Regions from separate parts of the Homo sapiens genome. Here region 1 is linked to region 2. The links are contacts of gene promoters, found by promoter capture Hi-C in blood cells and fetal thymus (Javierre and others, 2016). All regions are on one chromosome and are shown on one strand. Each heading gives the region's core, a stretch centred on a gene start or on the middle of the fragment in contact. The rest is flanking DNA. Distances are from core to core; before and after follow the strand shown. Region 1 has its middle 4.0 kb from the start of COMP. Region 2 holds the start of REX1BD (required for excision 1-B domain containing).

Region 1 (3,672 bases), core at 654-3,153, 210 kb before region 2:
GAAGAGAGAGAGACAGGGAGGAGGGAAGAAGGAAGGGAGAGGGGGAGGGAGGAAGGAGGAAGGGAAGGAAGGAAGGAAGGAAAAGAGAAAAAAGAAAGAAACCAGTATCAATTGAATATTGTGAAATTCCTATCTGTTCCTAGTGAATTTTTTTTTTTTTTTTTTTTTTTTTTTTTTTTTTGACACAGAGTCTTACTCTGTCGCCCAGGCTGGAGTGCAATGGTGCAGTCTCGGGTCACTGCAACCTCCGCCTCCTGAGTTCAAGCAATTCTCCCGCCTCAGCCTCCTAAGTAAGTAGCTGGGATTACAGACACCTGCCATCATGCCCGGCTAATTTTTGTACTTTTGTACAGACAGGGTTTCACCATGTTGGCCAGGCTGGTCTTGAACTCCTGACCTCAGGTCATCCGCCCTCCTTGGCCTCCCAAAGTGCTGGGATTACAGACGTGAGCCACCACGCCCGGCCTCTGGTGAAATTCTTTCTCTCCTGAAGCAACTCTTCAGTATAGTAACCTGAGAAGTAAAATTTTACATTATAAGAAACTTTCGAAGGTGGCAAAAAAAAGAAGAAGAAATAAAGGAAAAAAGAAGAAACTGAGGCACAGAGAGGTTAAGCAACTTGCCTCATGTACCACAGCAGAGCTGGGATATGAAACTCAGGCTCTGATGCCAGAGACTGAGACCTTCATCACTGTGCCCCACTGTCTCCCATGATGACAAATTCCTGCCTTCTGGGACTTAAGGGATGACAGAAAGAGAAAACCCACAAAGGCTGAGTGGTAAGGTTTCAAGCATTTGGCACTTGCTCAAGAAAACTGTAGCCACTGTATTTATTGTTGTCTTCTTCCTTTATCGCCATCCAGTAGAGCCTGGGATGCAATGGGGGTAGGGACTGAGTAAAAGGAGAATGGGGCTGGGTGCAGTGGTGCACATCTGTGATCCCAGCACTTTGGGAGGCTGAGGTGGGAGGATCACTTGAGCCCAGAAGTTGGAGGCTGCAATGAGTGAGCTATGATTGTCACTGTACTTCAGGCCAGGCAACAGAGCAAGACCCTGTTTCAAAAAAAAAAAAAAAAAAAAGGAGACTGGGAGAGGAGGTGGCACCTGCCAAAGGTCACACGGCCAGTCGGGGGGCGTCTCCTGGACTTCAAAGCTCAGAGCCCCCCATCCCACCCCTGCCTTTTGTTCCTTCTAGAGAGATGCCTCCAGTACGTCTCTCCCAGTTCAAGGCAGGCTGAGGATGCAGAGGTCGCCAAGCTGCCCTCCCCTGCCGCCCTGATGAATTCCGCAGACTGGGGGCCTACAGCCCGGCCCGCCCAGGGCAGGGCGGCTGCCTTCACAACATACTTTCCTTCTGCATTCACAAAGGCAGGCAACGGTGGGGGCGGGAGGCAGGGAGCCGGGGCGCCCACACGTCTCCTGGCTGAGCAGACGTCTGCCAGGAAGGGCCCCGGGGCCCCATCATGCAGGCACCCGTCCCTCTTCCCCAGCCTGGCCGGGCTCCTGGAACCACGGGGCCTGGTGTGGGGCTGGCTGGGGCGCCGGCCAGATGCTCTGGCCAGGAGGTCCTGGGCCGAGAAGACATCCCAGTTAATGAGGGGCTCGGGCCAGCGAAATGCTGGATTCTGTTTCTGTGGCAAGGACAGAGAGGGCGGGTATGAAGGGCTTGAGGGTCTTGCATGCCTCAGTTCTAATTCTGGCTGTGTGACCTCAGACTGTCTCTTCTCCTCTCTGAGTAAGATAGAAATAAGAACGATCTGAGGTATAAGCGACAGGCACAGGGTATAAGTTTTTTTGTTTTGTTTTGTTTTTTTGAGACAAGGTCTCACTCGGTCGCCCAGGCTGGAGTGCAGTGATGTGATCTCGGCTCACTGCAACCTCTGCCTCCCCGGTTCAAGTGATTCTCCTGCCTCAGCCTCCCGATTAGCTGGGATTACAGGCACGCGCCACCACGTCCAGCTAATTTTTGTATTTTGAGTAGAGATGGAGTTTCACGTTGGCCACACTGGTCTCGAACTCCTGGCCTCAGGTGATCCACCTGCTGTGGCCTCCCAAAGTGCTGGGATTATAGGTGTGAGCCACCACACTGGCCCACGGTGTATAAATTTCATATGGAATAAGCACGCTAGTAGCGCTGGAGCTGGGCGCTGGGCTGAAGGATTTCCATGGGTCAGCTCATTCAATCCTCTCAACAGTGATCATCCTCATTTTATGGGTGAGAAAACTGAAGCACAGAGAGGTTAAGTGACTTGTCCTAGGTCACACAGTAAGGCCATGCTCACCAATATTTGAACCCAGGCTGTGTGGCCCCCTTCCCTGCCATATCAAGTACAGAGGTGGCAGGGGTTACTAGGATTCATATGATAATGTTGGCTGGGTGCAGTGGCTGAAATCCCAGGGTTTTGAGAGGCCGAGGAAGGAGGATCTGTTGAGCCCAGGAGTTCGAGACTAGCCTGGGCAACATAATAAGACCCCCATCTCTATTTTAAAAAAAAAAAAAAATAGTAATGACATTACATTAATTATAAAAAGTAGTAATGGCCAGGCGCGGTGGCTCACGCCTGTAATCCCAGCACTTTGGGAGGCTGAGGCAGGTGGATCACCTGAGGTCAGAAGTTCGAGACCAACCTGGCCAACATGGTGAAACCCCGTCTCTACTAAAAATATAAAAAAATTAGCTGGGCGTGGTGGCAGGTGCCAGTAATCCCAGCTACTCAGGAGGCTGAAGCAGGGGAATCACTTGAACTCAGGAGGCAGAGGTTGCAGTGAGCCGAGATTGCACCATCGCACTCCAGCTGGGCGACAAAAGTGAGACTCCATCTCAAAAAAAAAAAAAAAAAATAGTAATGAACACGAATCATAGGGATGCTGTCCCGGCTCACCAAGCCCTCCAGCCTAACCTTTCTACACCAGTCCAGGCCCCTGGGTGGGAGCCCCTCAGGCTCGGAGGGACAGAGCAAACCACAGACACTCACAGTCCCGAGGATCATGGCTAGGCTGGAAGGTTATCTGGAGAATATCAGCAGGGAAGGCTTCCTGGAGGAGGGGACATTATAGCTGGACCTTGAAGGATGGAGGAGTTTGTACGAGGTGGGGGGAACAGCAGGTACAAAGGCCCAGAATGACACCTACAGTGAGTTATTCTGTAATCTGAGGCAAGTGTGGTGTGCACAGGAGGAGGGGACTGCTGCCTAGAAGGGGGATTTCAGGGCTGGCGAGATCCAGGAGGCAGGAGTGTGACCCCAGACATCCCCTTTCCGGGCCTCTGTTGTCCGATCTTGGGACACCCTCAGGAACTCCACCTTTGTAGTTCCCTCCGCCTGGAATGCCCTTCCCTGCAACTCCCCGTGGCCCAGCCATGGATAAGGCCACGTGTGTCCAAGCCCCAGCACTGTGACCAGCCTGTGGCAGGGGCCTGGCTTCCATGTGCTCCTGTCCTAGCTGTGTGCAGCATATGCCAGCCCCCAGGCCCCACTGGAGCTGTGGTTTTCCCGAGAATTCCAGTGCTGCCAGGAGCGGCCCCCAGGTGTGCTGAAGGCCAAGGAAAACAGGAGGTGAGCTCATGGCCCCAATGTAGGCAGCAGGCAGGGCAGGCACTATTGAGGACAGGCTTCATTGGAAATGCTCTGGCTGGGACCAGCTGCTTCCACCAACACTCCACTTATAGGCCTG
Region 2 (4,118 bases), core at 88-2,587:
GTTGCAGGGCCGAGCAGGCGGATCGCAAGAGAGAAATAGGCAAAGAACTAAAGCTGTGATGGAGGAATAATACGGAGGAGGCGTGGCCTGGGACCCCCCTCGCCTGTATCTACGGGAGGTTGAGGGTGGGACCCTAGACGCGGAACAACCAGAGTGGGTGGAGCATTGTTGGGGCGGGATCTGGGCATCTTGGAATAGCATTTAGGCGGAGCTGGGAGAAAGCGGGAGTGCTCTGGGAATAAGGACAAAACTTGGGAAAAAAATTGGGGATGAACAGCAGAGGGCAAGGTCCGAGAATCCCCAAGTGAAGCCTTAATAGAGGATTGGGGTGGGACAGGAAGGGGTGAGGTCTGTGTATGGGATACTGGGACCACCCCCCAACCAGGGGTGCGTCATGAGAGGAGCCGGCCAGGGTCCTAGAGACACGGCGGGGAAGGGGTGGTGGCCTCACCGTGCCCAGCCGCGTCTGCTCCAGCTCCTGCAGGCTGCGCACGTGGCCGGCGAGCAGCGGCTGCCTGCGAGGCCCGCCCAGCTCTGCTTCCACCGCCAGCACCTCCCGCGAGGCGGCGGCGAAGGCCTGGGTCACCCCGTGCACTGTGCTCCGGTAGCGCGCGAAGTCGTAGTCAGGGCCGCTGCGCAGGTACTGGCGGTGGCCTCTGCGGCATGTGGGGACCCTGAGGCCGCGCCCCCAGGCTCTCAGGCCCTGCACCGGCGCCAACCACCTGAAAGGCCCCCAGGAAGTGTCCCCAGACACCAGAGGGGAGGACTGGTAGGTAGGAAGGACGCTTCCTGACTCCCGCAGGGGAACGCGAGACAGGCCCACCCCTGCTCTTGGGGAGGAGAGAGAAGCCACGAAGAGTGAGTCGTCGGGTAGTGGGGACGTGCTGTGGGGCCTTTTTCGTGAAGGTGAGGACCCGGTGCCCCGAAATCCCCGCCCCATCTGACTCTGCAGCCACACAAGGACCCAGCTCCTCCTCCAGGCACGCCCGCCGAGAACACGCCCACGCCCGGAGCGGGCGGGGGACCGAACCCTGAGCCCCTCCGCGCCCCCACTCACTCCTCCAGTCGGCGGAAGCCCTGCGCGCGCTCAGCCTGCAGCTGGTGGATGCGCTGCACCAGCGTCCGGATCGGGGCGTCTTTCTGCGGGACAGGGGGCACGGCTGGGGCATGAAGCCCGCGCCCCTGGGTCTGCGCCGCCCGCCCCGCGCCCGTTCCCGCTTGGGCCTGGGCTCACCCAGGGCCACGCCGGCTCCTCGCGTCCCCGAGCTTCGGTGGCCTCCTCAGCAGCAGGCACTGCAGGGACCGTAGGCTCCGCCGCGGTCTCGGTGATCATGACTGCGCAGCCCTGGCCAGGCTCCGGAGCAGGCCCTTCCGCTGCGCCCGACGCCCCCTACAGGCCGGGAGGTCCACGGACCCCCTACCCTGCGGCCGGCCAGCCAGAAGGAAGAAAGGGGAACCAAGACCGCGGGCCGCCCAGTCAAGCCCACCCTTCTTGTTCCCGTCCAGGGCCCGCCTCCGATCGTGTTTTTCCTTGATTGTGCGGCTCTGAATACAGAACAGCTGTTAGCCTTGAGTTCGTTCCTATGCTTGTATCTCAACACCGACTTCCACTTGAAGCGGGTACTGAGCGTGGGTTTTGACGTTCAAGAGTGTTAAGTAAGCCTGGGCAACCTAGGGAGGCCCGATCTCTACAGAAAAACCAATTAGCCCGACATGGTGGCTCCCGCCTCCAGTCCCAGCTACTCGGGAGGCTGAGGTGGGAGGATTACATGAGCCCGGGAGTTGGGGGCTGCCATGAGCTATGACCATGCCACTGCACTCCAGCCGGAGCCACAGTGAGTCTGCCTCAAAAAAAGTGCAGTGGCTGGAACTCCACCAACATTAACAGAGATTCACTGGCTCTTCAGAGAATCACAGGGGTGAAGACAAGATTCAGTGACAGGGACGGTGTCAACAGCCCACCGAGTTGAATTGGGTGTCTTGTGTAATAGCCCTGAGCCTGGAGCATAGCAGGGGCCAGAACGACCTCAAAGTACAGAGGAGGCCTTGGAGCTTCCTGCTGGAGGGATACATGGGCTAGACAGAGCTTTGGAAAGCTTCCTCCTCCAGGGGCCCAGCCGGAGGAGCAGGAAGATGCTGGTAGCCTGACTTAGTGAAGAGGGACCAGCTCAGGTATGGGGTGACAGACACCAGCCTTTAAGGGGGAAGGGACTAGGCTGTTAGTGAGTTGGGAGTTTTTCTTGCCGATGGGTTCGTGGTCTCGCTAACTTTGAAGAATGAAGCTGTGGACCTTCGCGGTGTGTGTTACAGATCAAAAAGAGTCCACGGACCAGGAGAGTGAGCAGCAGGGCAGTTTATTGAACAAAGCGAAAGGAAAGCTTCCACATGCTGGAAGGGGACCCGGAAGGGTTGCCGTTGCTGGCTCCGGTGGCTAGGGCTCATATCCCTATGTTACCCCTCCCCTTTCTTTTTGTCCATTGAGAGTGGTTCTTTTTTCAATCCTCCTCTGGAGTGTTTTTTTTTTTTGTTTTTTTTTTTTTTTTTTTTTAGTGAGACAGAGTCTCGCTCTGTCGCCCAGGCTGCAGTGCAATGGCACGATCTCGGCTCACTTCAAGCTCTGCCTCCCGGGTTCACGCCATTCTCCTGCCTCAGCCTCCCCAGTAGCTGGGACCACAGGCGCCCGCCACCACACCCGGCCAATTTTTTGTATTTTTAGTAGAGGCAGGGTTTCACCGGGTTAGCCAGGATGGTCTCAATCTCCTGACCTCGTGATCCGCCCGCCTCGGCCTCCCAAAGTGCTGGGATTACAGGCGTGAGCCACCGCGCCCGGCCTGGAGTGGTTAATTCTGAATCCTTCACTCGATTGGTTAAGAACTCAAAACACTGAGTCACAGGGGTCTTCTGTGAAAGTCCCCAAACCTGCCCAGTAAATCCTGCCAACTCCACCCCTCAGTCCCCTCTCTCAACAGGAGAGCCCAACTGCTGTTGGGGTGTGGGAGGATGACCACTCTAATTGCTTCCTGCTGAATAGGGGCATAGAAGGGGTTCTGTAGCTGAGGTTTCCTCGTGAGAGGTGGTTTGGGTGTCAACGTCCGGGTATGGGCCGGCAGGCTGGTTTAGGGGTCCTTGATAATAGGTGCTGGTTGAAGTCATCTGAGGTTCCATCTGCAGTAACATTTCTAGTTTCATTGATTCTATTCAGGAAGAAACGAAAGGATGAAGGAACTGAAAAGACATGGGCCAAAGGTTACTCCTAGAATAATCATAAGGAAGGGACCTAAAAATGGAAGAAGCCAGTGGAGAACAGGCTGTGAGAACCCTGAGGTAGTTTCGGTTGTCCCACCATGTAGTCTGCTAGCTCTATCCTGAAGTCATTTAATTCCATCTCTCACTATGCCTGATTTATTGACATAAAAACAACATTCCTTGTTCAGAAAAAGGCATGTTCCTCCCCTTTCGGCAGTGAGGAGATTGGAGATCTAGTGCTCACTGGTTCTGGAGAACCACAGCTGCTAATGAGTCTATTTGGTCCTGGATTTGAGTAAGTTGGAGAGAGATTTCATCTAGGCTGTGAGTCCACTTCCTAGGTGGTAGTAAATCCTAAACCAGCCAATAGAGGAAGTAGTGAGATTGCTCTCGGCTGAAGCTTAGCATGAATGGGCACAGCTACTGCCTCTTCTGAAAAGGAATAAGTCACAGGAGGTACTATGTAGGCTAAAGTACAAGTTCCTGTCCAGTTGGTGGGGAGGCAAATATAGAAGGATCTTCCACACACAAAGAAAACTCCTTATCAGGGTTCTATACACCCCTGTAGCTGAAAACTCATAAGGGCTGTGGTCAGTCTAAATTCATTTCTCATTCCCATGATTTGAGGGTTCAGGACAAATGGGCCACTCCTAGCAGTTGGAGCTGAATAGAATTTGCCAAGGACGTATTATGGGGTTCCTGTAAGGCAAACCGGTGGCTAGCTGCATTAAGAAAAACTCTCGGCTGGGTGCAGTGGCTCACGCCTGTAATCCCAGCACTTTCGGAGGCCAAGGCTGGTGGATCACGAGGTCAGGAGATCAAGACCATCCTGGCTAACATGGTGAAACTCCATCTCTACTAAAAATACAAAA

What was found. The method cuts DNA at HindIII sites, captures the fragments that hold promoters and counts their contacts. A CHiCAGO score of 5 or more calls a contact.
Region 1: a fragment that was not itself captured here is called in contact with the fragment with the promoter of REX1BD in region 2 in 1 of 17 cell types (M0 macrophages); the score reaches 5.1 in M0 macrophages.

Annotation. Positions count from the first base shown.
Region 1 is chr19:18,793,485-18,797,156 of GRCh38, reverse strand. No RefSeq gene overlaps it. Among named protein-coding and RNA genes, the nearest start is that of COMP, 4.0 kb to the right of the region's middle. RefSeq lists an enhancer at 1,448-1,977. The HindIII fragment of the contact is 4,570 bases long and covers 1-3,672 here.
Region 2 is chr19:18,586,017-18,590,134 of GRCh38, reverse strand. REX1BD (required for excision 1-B domain containing) reads right to left here and starts at 1,337. Exons shown (of 5, transcript NM_001100418.2): 1 at 1,235-1,337; 2 at 1,058-1,140; 3 at 452-722. The coding sequence starts at 1,333. RefSeq lists a silencer at 990-1,509. The HindIII fragment of the contact is 10,738 bases long and covers 1-2,098 here.